Regions from separate parts of the Homo sapiens genome. Here regions 2, 3, 4 and 5 are each linked to region 1. Evidence: promoter capture Hi-C in 16 types of primary human blood cells and fetal thymus (Javierre and others, 2016). All regions are on one chromosome and are shown on one strand. The core of a region is centred on a gene start or on the middle of the fragment in contact, and the rest is flanking DNA. Distances in the headings are between cores, read along the strand shown. Region 1 holds the start of PDLIM5 (PDZ and LIM domain 5). Region 2 holds the start of ADH5 (alcohol dehydrogenase 5 (class III), chi polypeptide). Region 3 overlaps TSPAN5-DT (TSPAN5 divergent transcript). Region 4 overlaps RAP1GDS1 (Rap1 GTPase-GDP dissociation stimulator 1). Region 5 holds the start of STPG2 (sperm tail PG-rich repeat containing 2).

Region 1 (2,508 bases), core at 4-2,503:
GGGCCGAGGCGGGTTGGTCACCTGAGGTCAGGAGTTCGAGATCAGGCTGGCCAACATGGTGAAACCCCATCTCTACTAAAAATACAAAAAATTAGCCGGGCGTGGTGGCGCACGCCTGTAATCCCAGCTACTCAGGAGGCTGAGGCAGGGGAATCGCTTGAACCCGGGAGGTGGAGGTTGCAGTGAGCCGAGATTGCACCACTGATCCCAGCCTGGGAGACAGAGCAAGAATCCGTCTCAAAGAAAAAAAAAGTAAAGAAATGTTATCCTGCTTCAGTTTTAAATGTTAAATTATTTAAAATTACGTAAAACAAAAAATTCATGGTCTCAGTTACAGTAGCCACATTTCAACTGTTCGATAGCCACATGTGGCCAGTGGCTACCGTTAGGGAAAGAGCAGCTTTGGATCTTCGCCTTTGGAATTTTGCTTGCACTTCTGGGGGCCGGGGAGCTCACGGACCTCATGAAGTTCATCCTTGCTTTATATGCTCCTTGGTTAAGAATTGTCCTTTTCACGTTTTATAAGCCAATTCACAGTGTAACAGTCTAGTTACTTTCCGTATGTTCAGTGAACATTATTCACGTTTTCTTATGAATAAATTCCTCGGGCGTATCAAGCAACCCTATAGAAGGCTGGAAAGTGGACTATTGATTTGGATTTAGAAAAATAAACTGAAGATACAGTGGTTGAATCACTTTTGGCCGCTTTTATGTATCACTGTCTTCTGGTGTGATGGACAGGGTTAACTTCTGTTAGGGTTACTGGTTTTCACCTTCCTGACAGGTAAACTTCTGGGTCTGCACTTTTCAGAGCATGTAAAGCTCTTTCAAAAAAAAAAACGCAGGCAGTAACCGCTGAACTTGCATAGATAGAGATTTATCCAAAGTACCCTTCTATTTTTAGGCAGAGCAACTGCTTGCCAATTTAAATTTCTGGAGAGAAAAATGCACCCACTACAAAACGGACGAGCGGAGGGTTAGACCTTTGCCAGGTAGCGCTCAAAATCCGCTAAGACTACTCCCACCGAAACTCGGTAGCGCAGTTGTCTTTCCGCAGCTGCTTCAGCCAGCCCCAGCAAGCCCGAGCGCCCGGCGCCGCCGCCACCTTCCCCGCCCCTGCGCGGCGCGGCTGGGACTGGCCCAGAGGCGTGGCCGGGAGCGGAGGGGCGTGTCCTGGGTCGGGGGTGGGGCGAGGGAGAGCCAGGAGGCGGAAGTTCCCGCGGGCGGTGGGGACGGCGCCCTCACCGCGAGTCACTTGTCAGCCCTTGTCTGAGGCGGAGGCAGCCCCGCGCCGCGCCGGACCCGAGGTGAGTGGCGGCCGGCCGGCGATGCGCCTCTCGGATCTCCGGTGGGAGAAGGGAAAGAACCGGCCGCTGTGCGCCGAACGCGAGAAGGGAAGCCCGGTTGGGGACGAGGAGGGGGCGCTCCTCGGGCAGGGATGGCTCCTCAGGTGCTTTCTGGGCGCGGAGCGGCGGAGGTGGGAGAGCAGCTTGGGAAAAGGAGCGCCCGGAAAAGGGCAGCGCTGGAGTCCGCATGAGGCCAGAGGGCGAGCCCTGGGGTCCCCGCAGCCCGGGCCGACCGGGACCAGCGTAGCGGAGACGGGGACGCGGGAGGGCGCCCGGAGGTGGCGAGGGCCGGCAGGGACGGGCACTGCCGCTCCCACCCACCCGGCTGCCGGCGTCGCCCGGCACCACCGTGGTGTGGTGTCTGAGTGCCCAGTCCTGCGCCAGTCTCTTGGAGGGTAGGAAGCGGGACTCAAAGGAAAAGGCGCGTTAGTTTTTCTTTGCTCCCAGGCTACTGAGAAGCATTTATTTCTCCCCCAGATATTTACAGTTTTGTGTAACCTGTTTGGGGAAAACTTCTGCGCGTCCAGAAATAAAGCTCGTTTAAGAAACACATTTGTCATGAACACGAGATTTGTTAACACTTGAGTACTTGTTGGGGCTTTTGTAAGACTGTGCCTTCGGTGCGTTTTACAATAAGTGGAAAAAGGAAGGGCGTGTGGACAGGGCAGAGCTTGGAAGGAAAATTCGTGGCGGCGCTGGGCAGGGCAGATTTAGGGTGTGATCGCCAGATCCTATCCCAAGTCCGCCTTCCTGACGGGGAGGACGTCTGAACCCGCCTGCCACGGAAACGGCCCGTTCGGTAGCCTTATTTGGCCAACAAGGCTAGGCGCGAATCCCTCCTGGAAAACTGTCCTGTCGGCTGCTTTCATCCTGTGCCTGTGGCTTTAGTTCTTCAGCTCTACCTACATTCTCTCTCCATTGCGGGGAAAGAGAATCTCAAGATATTTCTCTTTAATTTCAGGCCTTTTTTTTTGTCACTCTGTGTAGTTCATCTTGAGTTCTCCTTTCTCCCCTCTCACCCACTAATGAAGCTGAGATACAAGTGTGGGAAATACCAAGCTTCCTTCCCTAGTACTAGAGCAAAGACATTGTTTAGACTTTCCCTAAAAGAAAATCCATAACTCTACAGAAATTCCAACCTTTTCGACGTGTTTGAAAGAGT
Region 2 (2,508 bases), core at 6-2,505, 4.6 Mb after region 1:
AATGTGCCATAAATTTCAACTCCACAAGTCAGATTCAGAATACTAACAATTAAGTTATGCAACATAGGAATCCAAAGAAACAAGAATACTAAATTTGATGGCCTGCTCCCCTTTAAAAAATGTCTTAATGGAGCCTAACCTTTTCCTTTTACTGACAATTCTAAGCAAAACAAAGCCCCACTCTAAATCCGCGGGAAATGGCCCTACTTCAACATTTGAACTATAGTAACAATTATAATCTTTCACCTTCTCTGAATAAAGACACTCAGTAATAAGGAAAAGCAACTACCAGTTTAAGTCTGAAAGACTGTTTAGAGTTTATTTCTTTCAAACTCCAATATGTTTAAGGCCATTTGTCTTACTAGAAAATGTCCAAAATTGCAAAACATTAAAATAATCAGCAACTTTAGACTGAGTATGTTATTCGTAATTTCTGCCTTTCTTTACTGTCTAATTTGTATTTTATGAATTTGTCATAGAGGAGCAGACCTGGGTCGGAATCCCAGCTCGCCATCGTTGGTGTGACCAAGCACAACCAACCTCAAACCTCAGTTTTTGGTAAGATGGGGATAACACCTCGCAGAGGTGTTTGTTACGTGAGGACTAGAGGGAATATAAATCTCTTGGTATTTAAGTGCTCGAAAATGTTTCTGAAAGGGACGTAGGGGTCTTTCCAAAATACACTCCTTGGAGGCACAATAATTAAGGCGTAGGCTCAATTATGCAACACAAGCAACCTAGGAGTTAGAAGCACGGGATCTGGCTGCAGCTCTGCCAAGTATGCAAGCTGCAAGAATGACCCAGAGCGAGTTACTTAATTTCGTGTAAGAAGCAATGCGTGGCCGCTCCTAAGCCATTTCCACTGGGATACCGACCTGACCAGCCCCTGCCCCCCACTCTCCGGCTCTCCCACCCCCCCACCCCGTTCCGACTGTCCCAGAAGCAGCAAAGAAAGCTGCTTCCCAACTGAAGAGCCGAGACAAAGCTTCCTTCTCTTTCTGCCCCTCTGAGCCGCTCGCTGGGGGCCCAGTTTCAGAACCAAGAGCCAGATCCCGTCTTGGGCGCCGAGCCTCGCGCGCCCCCGAGGATAGCAGCCTAGTCCCATGCCATGCACTCCCTCCCTTGGACTCAGGGCCCTCCGCTCAACGGGCCCTACCTCGTTCGCCATGTTCACGGATTCTGGTCGGCGCGGGGGGCTGACATCCGGGGTGGGCCGCGCAGCGACGGAGGCATGGGCGTGGCGAGCGCCTAGCGAGGGGGGCGGGGCGTGGGGGGGGCTTGCAATGGCTCCAACCGGAAGGGCGGTGCTCGAGCTGTGGTGCGTGCCGCTAAGTTGTGCGTTCCAGGGTGCACTCGCCGGCGAGGCTGCACGGCGCCGGTTTCATTGCTAAAATCCGACGGACTTGTTGCAGAACTCGTTTTTTTTGTCGGGAAAGGGCTTCCCCGTGTAACTTTACAGCAGTTATCGTAGATAAGACTTGCAAATTACAGATGTGGACGGTGAGGGAACGGGAATTTCACTGAAAGCGCCTGAGAACCAGTAAGAGACCTGCAACAGCTTTGTGCTCCACTGGCGAATGCTTCCTCCCCTAATACACATTATGTGTGCTTGGAGACACAAGGAGTAAGATACAGCCCCTCAAGGGACTCGTCATAGGGAGAGGACACAGCTTTGGGAATAAAGGGGCCACAAAGGAGGAGAGAGGAGTTTGCTGAAACTTCCCAAGCTCCCATTCCAGCAGTTCCTGAAGGGTAGGTAGGATTTTGGGGAGACAGTAGAACGTGGGCAGAGAACTTTGGAAGGAGGAGATGAGGAGAACAAAAAGTCTCCTGATCCTGGACAGTTTTTTGTGTTAAGAGTGGGCCAGAGTGTAGAGAGAGAGAATGTAGTATTTGTCGGTTTACTCTTTCTTTGTTTGTTTGAGACGGAGTCTCGCACTGTCGCCCAGGCTGGAGTGCAGTGGCGCGATCTCGGGTCACTGCAACCTCCGCCTCCTAGGTTCAAGTGATTCTCGTGCCTCAGCCTCCTGAGTAGTTGGGATCACAGGCACACGCCACCACGCTGGCTCAATTTTGTATTTTTAGTAGAGATTGGGAGTGGGGGCAGGGGGTTGGTCTCACCATGTATGCCAGTCTGGTCTTGAACTCCTAACCTCAAGTGATTCACCCACCTCAGCCTCCCAAAGTGCTGGGATTACGGGCATGAGCCACCGCACCTGGCCTGCCAGTTTACTCTTAAACTCTGTTGTAAACGCTGAATTTTGTTAAAATAGCTCTGTCAGACACACTGCTCTTTTCTGTCTTTCAGTCTTTTTCTTGGCTCTTTTCCGGGTACATATGGTAAGATTGTCCAAAGTCTTTCCGTCCTTTCACTCCACTCTCTCACTCACACTTTGGCTTTTAACGTCTATTTATGGAAAGATGACTACCAGATTATTATCTCCAATCAGGATGGCTCCCCTAAACTCCAGACTTGGACATGTAACTGCCTACTGGATTTCTGTCTCC
Region 3 (2,508 bases), core at 6-2,505, 4.2 Mb after region 1:
TTTAGTTAGCTATGATATAAAATTAAACTATATTTTTGTTATAGTTAATGAATTAATATTGTATCTTCTGTTCCTTAGTCGAAAAGTGAGCAGTTAAATGGTCTATTTCTCTAACAAAACAATTAACTGATTCCTCAGGATTTACCGCCCACTGTGACCCTCTTGCCCTGTGCCCACACATACCTACTAAAGACCAGTTTTCAGATCCCCAGGAATAACATAAAATGGGGCATATCTGTCTCGTAAATATGATTGAATAAGCATATGTAGAGCACAGTTGTTTCACTTTTAAGAATCAATTATAATCATTTGTACAATAAAATGAATTATGTCTTTCACACAATATGACAGAGCAGTAATTGATTTTTTTTTTTAATTCGGCCATTCCATCTTCTTCTGGCACCTCAACTTCCTGCTGCTTTGGAGATAGCTAGACCTGTGTGGATCAAGGCATTAGGCCCTGATGTTACCTTACCAGGGGCCAAGCACATGACACAAGTTCAGCCAATTAGAAGCTTACTTCCTGATACTGAGCAGAGCAAAGAAAGAGACCAAAAGCCACCTGGAGTTCATTTCTTGCAGCCCCTGGACAAGCCTGAAGCTGCCCTTGAGACCTTTGGGAGCCTCCTGATTCTTCTGCCTTCCCTCTGGTCCCATAAGCTAGCTGTCAGGTTCTAACTGATGTCCGAGTTCCCATAAGCTAGCTGCCAGGTTCTAATTGAGATCCAACGGGAATCAGTGGATGAGTGGTGGGTAGCTGGAAAAACACTAAAGGAATCATAGACAGTTTTGACATGGCTTTACCCTCTCTTTGGGTGTGAGCAAGCCATATGTACAGCATTAGCAGGGTAATTATACCTTTTACAGACAGTAGTGGCTCCAAGCCCAGCACAAGCTCACATGGGTGATCACCTAATGTGCCTCACATGGCTTGGTTACATAATGTGCGGAGCTATGCGCCTGCGCTCCAAACCCATTGAGTTATGCTGTGCCGGAAGCCTGCCTCAGCCTACTCCTGACTAAAGCACAGCCATTTCCCTTACACTCCACCCCCTAGGCCTAGGGCATCCTCCAGGCAGGCACATGTGCCCATAGGGCAGAGCCCTGAATCCATAACCCACAACAACAATACAGAAAGCAACACCTCACTACTAGGATCCCAGCTATGCCACTTATGACTATTAGGGCCCAGTGTAGGCCAGAGCCTAGGGATGCCCACCATCTCCACAGGGGATCATCAGTAAGGCTCTCAACTGCGTTAATCTGCCATGAGACCCCTTGCAGGGCTGCTGTTATGTTCTACCGATTGTCAGGAATAAAGGTACAACATTGTGTTCCTAAAAGTGCACAGGTGCCTCCTTGGGCAGCAGTTTCTATGTCTAAGGCTATTTGATTTTGCAATACCACCTTTCTAATCTGATCAACCTCATTGGTTAACAGGAGGGGGGCCACTCAAGTGTAATTCAGAGCCCAAGTGGTGTGCTGTGCAAGAGTGGTAACTTGTGCTTCTACGGTTATGACACCCACTCCAGGGATAGTCACTGCCAAGAGGCAGAACCACCAGGGGACTCGTCGCACTTGCACAAACCGAGAACATAGCACCTCCCAGTTAAGTGAGCTATCTGGGCAACTTGGGGAGAACATTGGCAGGTAAGGCCACCCCCAGGTGCAATGTCCAGTCCAGTTCACTGGTAGCTAAGGCCACCCTGTGTCCCCACAGACCCATAAACTCCCAGGGGACACAAAATCCATTGGGGCCCAACCTTGGTGAGGCCGCTCGTTCCATCATACCTTCAGTGTGGTGACATGTATTATGTTTGCACAGGCCATGATGGGTACCCATCCCACAGGGGTGTTGCCCCAATGTGGCTCTATGTACCACAGTACCTGGGCTTGGGGTACTGCATGTTCCCCCGCTAGCCAGCCCCACCCATCATAAACACTACAGGCCAGCCAGGGGGCGGGTGTGCTGTGGGTCTTACAGCATCCTTTTTCAAAGCTTGCCATGTTGCCTCACAGACATCAGCCATGGGACCCCAGGTCTCCAGCCATGTCCAGTTCTCTGCAGATACTGAATGTATGTGCCAAGGCAAGCCATCTGCAGCTGCTGTTGGAAGGGCAGTGCAGATCCAACAGATGGAAACTTGGTCACCTCAGCGTAGGTGTGGGCCCAGTCCAAATGCAGTTAGAGCATGTTAACCTACAGTTGAAATGACAGAGCAGGTACAGGTACTAACAGAGGTAAATCATATCCCTCAGGCAAAATACAGGCTAATCTTTCATCCCTGGATAACAATGCAGCCACCAAGGGCTTTTGCTCTGGGTGATGGTACCACACCTCAACTCCCCATGGTTCCTTTGAGTCCTGTATCTGTGCCAAAGTCACAGGAGAGCTCATAATAGGCCAAACAGACAGTACACATGTCCCCCAGAGGAGAGTTCCTTCCCTGGCTGTTCCCGCTGTAGGGGCCATGTATTGAACACCCAAGGAGTGATATACGAGTCATA
Region 4 (2,508 bases), core at 5-2,504, 3.8 Mb after region 1:
AGCCTGCCTCGCGGGCTCGCATCTGCAGCTCCATCCCCGTTTCTCCAGAGGCCGCCCGCTTCCTTTTCCCCCGCGTGTACTGAGCTCGAGGCTCGGGTCCGACCACTACCACTTCGTGTAACTTCCTTCTCTGTCAGTGCGACCTTTCCCCGTCGTGGAGACTCCTCATCCCGGGCGGGGAAGTGGAAGCAAGTAGTTTGTGAGGGAGATCTTACAACCTGCACGGAAATTATTTTCCAAGGGGGAGAGCGGACAGCCTCATAGGTTGAAAGGATGACTTGTCAGAGGCCACGAGGAACGTGAGGCAGGATAGAGCCGCTAGCTGTTGAATTAGTGCTGGGTGACTACAGTGTGCAATATTCCCGTGCCCAGCCTATTTTCTGGATTCCTTCGTCCGTCTTCTGTAGCAGGAAACTGCGCCCTGTAACGTTGTTACCGAACTTACATGGTAGTTATTCTTTCCCAGCTTCCTCCTGTCTAATCTGCATAATCTGATTTTAGTTCCTTTGTATTTATAGTTAATCTGAAGAGATTGGTTTGGATGAGAGATTTAAGAGCAAATATGTTTTATAAAACGATATATACATTTGACCTAATTTTTTTACATCATCTATTGCTTAACTGTTACATTCAGTAATCACAGAAACGTCTGATGAATGCTGTCATGTAATTAAGAGCTCAAAGTTTCTTTTAATAGTAGCGACTTGTACTAAGTTCCCCAGTTTGCTTCCACTCCTGTCTGTCATAATTTCCTCTTTTTAAAATTTGCTCCCTTGGCATCTGTCAGCTGGGACTTTTCCCACCCCTTCTGTGCGAGTTATTTAAAGCTTGAGATGAATGTGGTCCTTTCATCTGTTAATACAGTGCTCAACACGTTCAGAGTTAGGTGGTGCAACTCAGAATCTTCAAGAAGTATCTAAACCTGGGAATGGTGTCCATAGAGTTTTCTGGAACAGCAAATGCTTCAGGCTTTGATCCCGACCTTTGGCCATATATCTGGAAGAGGCCAGGGTTGACGGAGGAGGTGGTATGAATCAAAAAAGGTCTAGGGCTCTGAATTTTATTTTCAGTTGTTTTTTCTTTTTAACGTGAGTACTCGATATGCTGAACAAATTTCTGTAAAAATTGGGTGGCCCATTTATGCGTGTCTGCCTTTCTCTTAAAGTAGATTTTTAAATAGGTATTATATCAGATTATTGGACAAGCTGTATATTTCCGTCGAACATACACACGTTTATGTGTGTTCCCTTTGAACATACACAGATAAAATACACTTTGAAATAAAATTCCTTTGAACATACATACACAGATAAGTGTGTGTATGTTCAAAGGAAATATACAGTATGTCCAATAACCCTATCTGATATTGGACTGTAAGTTCAAGTTTGGCTTGCAAAATATATTTTCCCATGTTTCCAGGTGAGCCTTAAACAATCCATTTAACATTTTAGCTTACATGTTAAATCCGTACTTTTTCAGTGGAAAAAATCCAATTCCGTTACAACACTGGTGAATAAAAATACCTAAAAGAAATTATCTACTTAAAAATAATCTTCAAAATCTTGAGTGCTATTGCTTGATTTTTAAAAAGGGCCAAATAGAAACCTATCTCTCATTTTGAAGCCATCTCTGATACTCTTTGGTTAATCTGTCTCTTCATAAGCACTGTTTGTACCTTGTTAGAAGCTTTTTAGCACTTACGTAATCTACCATATAATAAAGTTGTTTATGTGTGTGCTGTGCATTTAATCATGAGTCCCAGAAGATGAAAAGTGTCTTATTATTTTTTGTGTTCCCCACAGTGCTTTTCAAATAGAAATTCAGTAAATCTTTGGCAAATTGTTGAACTTAAAGCCACCTATTATTTTCAACTTTTGAACCTGAAGATATAGTCTTCATCTGAACAAACATTTGGGTTGGTACATATTATCTAGTTGGGGGATAAGCAGAAACAGAAAGGTATAATTGTACCATGCCTCCCAGTACACTGTAGGTTGGTTTTGAGTCAACCTCAGGCAATCTGTTTCCTTCTAAACTCTCTTCAATGGTAAGGCAGTTTCATGTATGATCAGTAGGTACATATGATAATTTAAAATTGAAACCTTGGGGAACAGTTTTATATCTGGGCCAAGGAAGTTAGTATAACAATTCATGTACACATAAGAAGGTAGAAGGTATACTGGTTAATGATGAGGGGAGGGAGAAGTGCTTTTTAATTTGTCTCAAGAAATAAATAAGGTTGATTTTTAAAGATAGTCTCAGCCGGGCGCGCACTTTGGGAGGCCGAGGCGGGCGGATCACCTGAGGTCAGGAGTTGGAGACCAGCCTGACTAACATGGTAAAACCCTGTCTCTACTAAAAATACAAAAAAACAATTAGCCGGGTGTGGTGGCGGGCGCCTGTAATCCCAGCTGTTTGGGAGGCTGAGGCAGGAGAATCACTTGAACCCGGGAGGCGGAGTTTGCAGTGAGCCGAGATCATGCCATTGCACTCCAGCCTGGGCAACAA
Region 5 (2,508 bases), core at 7-2,506, 3.7 Mb after region 1:
ACCTAAACCTTCCCTTATCTGATCAGTTATGTAACAGAATAATGGATCCTGGCATTTGCTTGAAAATACATAGTGTAGGTATGGGGAAAATGTAGGTTAAGAAAAACTATCATTTGGACGGTATTAAGCTCCAGAAAATCACCAGAATAGAAAAAGTAGAAAGCAAAATTGATGTATTTATTTTTGACTAAGTCACTAACTGCAAACAAACGAGGAGAGCAAATATTATTTAAATTATCCATCCCCACTCCACTGGTCAAAAATATAATTTTTCTTTACAGAATGTGGAGAAAAGGGGCTCCCCTGAAGTGTGTTAAAAGAGATGAGGACGGTCAGAAAAATCTGTCTGAAAAAAAAACGGAACTATCTTTAAATAATACTGCAAAATAGAAATATAAGCTACATCTTAATAAATAAATGTCTCTGGTTAATGGGAGGAAAGATGTGAGGCAGGCAGGATTACAAAGCAACGAGACAGCGGGAGGTAAGGGCACAGGATTTGGAGACTCATATATTATGTCAACACAGCCAGGAAATCAAAATCCTAGACCTAAACTGCACAATCAAAAGTAGGATGTAGACAACTATTGCGGAATCAAAAGTCCTAGCCATATGCTCACCAGCCTTTTGAAATGGGACAAGTGATACTATCAGTCTCATCTGTAAAATAAAAGTATAGTGTTTTCCCTGCCTACTTCATGTTTTGTTATGTTTACAAAATGGTACTATTCCGCTCTATGTTTAACTCACAAGCACGCAGAAGCGGAGCAGGCTGAAGATAGGATGCCTGTCACAGGAGCTCTGCCTCTTCCTACATCTTACCTGTCGCCTGCTGCTTCAGGAAAGGTACCTGGTAGGATCCAGGACCCACATGGGCCTCAGTGCTGCCACCTTCAGCCAATTTGAGCAGGCGGGGAGCCCGATCATACATAGTGCTCGGGGTGGTGGGGGCGCTGGGGAAGGGCAGGTGCCGAAAACGATAAAAACAAGGTAGCTAGAAGTGTGGAGAAAAAGGAAGCCGACACCAGTCTGAGGAGGCCGGGAAAGAACTTCCGTAAACAGGGAAATTAGGGGTGGGGTTGTCTCCCCGCCCGCTCATTGATACCAGATTTCCTCAAATCGATTTCTAGCTCTGTGGTAAAGTAGAGGGGTGAGCGACTAGAGATTAGACGTCCCACACAATCATCAGTTTGCCAGGTGCACGCCACCAAAATTGGGTATTAGGGATTAGACGCTCGCCCCGGTGCTTCCGGCCCTGACTCCGCCCACTTCTCTCCGCCCGGAAGCCTGGGGAGGAGGCGGGCCCAGTCTCTGGGGAGGAGGCGGGCCCAGTCTCTAGGGAGCGAAGTGGAGGTGCCTTCCTGGGCCGAGCCCTCGGAGCATGCGCACCGAGCAGCCACCCTTTCCCGGCTCTTTTTACCCGGAACCCGGCGCGCCTTGAAGAAGGCAGGCCTAAACCTCGTAGCTCTTGGGGTCCCGGTAACTACTTAGGTCCCGAACTTTTTTAAGTATGCAGAAGAACCTTAGAAAACGCGTTAGGAAGGGTGAGGACTAACTTGACCTTGATCTGCTTCCCGACTCAACAGAACCTAGTAAAGAAAAATGCAGTAGCATGAAGCAGAGAGCTTGGGGTTCCGCAAGCTCTCCCCCGCTTCTACTGCAGCCCCACTCGTACTCACAGAGAAAAGGCACCTCTGATCTTAACCTGTAGATAGTCCAAACTGCTAAGACAAACCCAGGGCTCAGGGCAGTGACAAGAAATGGAGAACCCAGAAAAAAAAATAACAAATAAGATAAGGGTAAAAAAGAAAAAAAAAAAAAAAGAAATGAGGACACCAGGCAAGGAGGCGAAAAGCTCACCAACTGAAGCCGTGGAAGTGACTGAAAGCTGCCTCTTTTGTCGTATGCCAGGTAACCACAATACTGATTCATCAATATTTAAAAAGCAAAGCGAAGGCACTGAAAAAGCCCAGTCCACCCCACCAAACCAATGATTCTGAACCTTGGGCAAAAGAAACCTTGCTTGTCCTTGGGGCTTAAGGAATCTATGTCAGAATCCACCTCTGCATCTCGCAGGCTGTTTTTTCTAGCAAGAATTCTGTCCAGATTATAAATATCCTCAGAGGCTTAGACAAATCCTACCTTGATCATACCTCACCTCCAAATGGTCTACAGTACGTTAATTTGTTCCTACTACAAGTTTTTATAGTTTTCATACTCTGTAATACACGATTTGCCACTCAATCCTGTGCAACATTTACTGTGGCTTCATTGTGCCATATAGGTCGGAACCCTCTCCTTGCGAGGCTATATGCTTCTCAAGGATGTATCTGTAGTACCTTTTTTTCTGTTCAATAGCTAGCTAAATTATTTATGCACTTAAAAAACACGAATTGGCATATACTGTAGGTTCCATCCCTGCTAAGTTATGAGGATACAAAGGCATAAGAAAGTCCCTGCCCTCAGGTGTTCTCTCTCTAATGGGGAAAGAGACGTATAATCCAAAAC

The links. Contacts are between HindIII fragments. The CHiCAGO score rates a contact against its expected background, and 5 or more counts as called.
Region 2: the fragment with the promoter of ADH5 here is called in contact with the fragment with the promoter of PDLIM5 in region 1 in 3 of 17 cell types (non-activated CD4 T cells, M0 macrophages and activated CD4 T cells); the score reaches 10.3 in non-activated CD4 T cells.
Region 3: a fragment that was not itself captured here is called in contact with the fragment with the promoter of PDLIM5 in region 1 in 1 of 17 cell types (non-activated CD4 T cells); the score reaches 6.5 in non-activated CD4 T cells.
Region 4: a contact is called between a fragment that was not itself captured here and the fragment with the promoter of PDLIM5 in region 1, in 3 of 17 cell types (naive CD8 T cells, non-activated CD4 T cells and activated CD4 T cells). The highest score is 8.7, in naive CD8 T cells.
Region 5: a contact is called between the fragment with the promoter of STPG2 here and the fragment with the promoter of PDLIM5 in region 1, in 5 of 17 cell types (fetal thymus, non-activated CD4 T cells, activated CD4 T cells and 2 more). The highest score is 9.7, in fetal thymus.

The regions. Positions count from the first base shown.
Region 1 is chr4:94,450,689-94,453,196 of GRCh38, forward strand. It overlaps PDLIM5 (PDZ and LIM domain 5), which reads left to right and starts at 1,254. Exons shown (of 13, transcript NM_006457.5): 1 at 1,254-1,307. RefSeq lists silencers at 904-1,323, 1,494-1,753. The HindIII fragment of the contact is 3,776 bases long and covers 1-2,403 here.
Region 2 is chr4:99,087,533-99,090,040 of GRCh38, forward strand. It overlaps ADH5 (alcohol dehydrogenase 5 (class III), chi polypeptide), which reads right to left and starts at 1,256. Exons shown (of 9, transcript NM_000671.4): 1 at 1,157-1,256. The coding sequence starts at 1,168. It overlaps LOC100507053 (a long non-coding RNA gene), which reads left to right and starts at 1,325. Exons shown (of 10, transcript NR_037884.1): 1 at 1,325-1,752. RefSeq lists a promoter at 1,201-2,454 and a silencer at 1,239-1,288. The HindIII fragment of the contact is 7,789 bases long and covers 984-2,508 here.
Region 3 is chr4:98,664,208-98,666,715 of GRCh38, forward strand. TSPAN5-DT (TSPAN5 divergent transcript) reads left to right here. Exons shown (of 3, transcript NR_148380.1): 3 at 1-344. All of the region lies in intron 1 of LOC112267901 (a long non-coding RNA gene), which reads left to right. Among named protein-coding and RNA genes, the nearest start is that of TSPAN5-DT, 6.6 kb to the left of the region's middle. The HindIII fragment of the contact is 1,484 bases long and covers 514-1,997 here.
Region 4 is chr4:98,261,872-98,264,379 of GRCh38, forward strand. All of the region lies in intron 1 of RAP1GDS1 (Rap1 GTPase-GDP dissociation stimulator 1), which reads left to right. Among named protein-coding and RNA genes, the nearest start is that of RAP1GDS1, 1.7 kb to the left of the region's middle. The HindIII fragment of the contact is 859 bases long and covers 826-1,684 here.
Region 5 is chr4:98,142,220-98,144,727 of GRCh38, forward strand. STPG2 (sperm tail PG-rich repeat containing 2) reads right to left here and starts at 1,257. Exons shown (of 11, transcript NM_174952.3): 1 at 823-1,257. The coding sequence starts at 931. RefSeq lists an enhancer at 984-1,083. The HindIII fragment of the contact is 14,460 bases long and covers 1-2,508 here.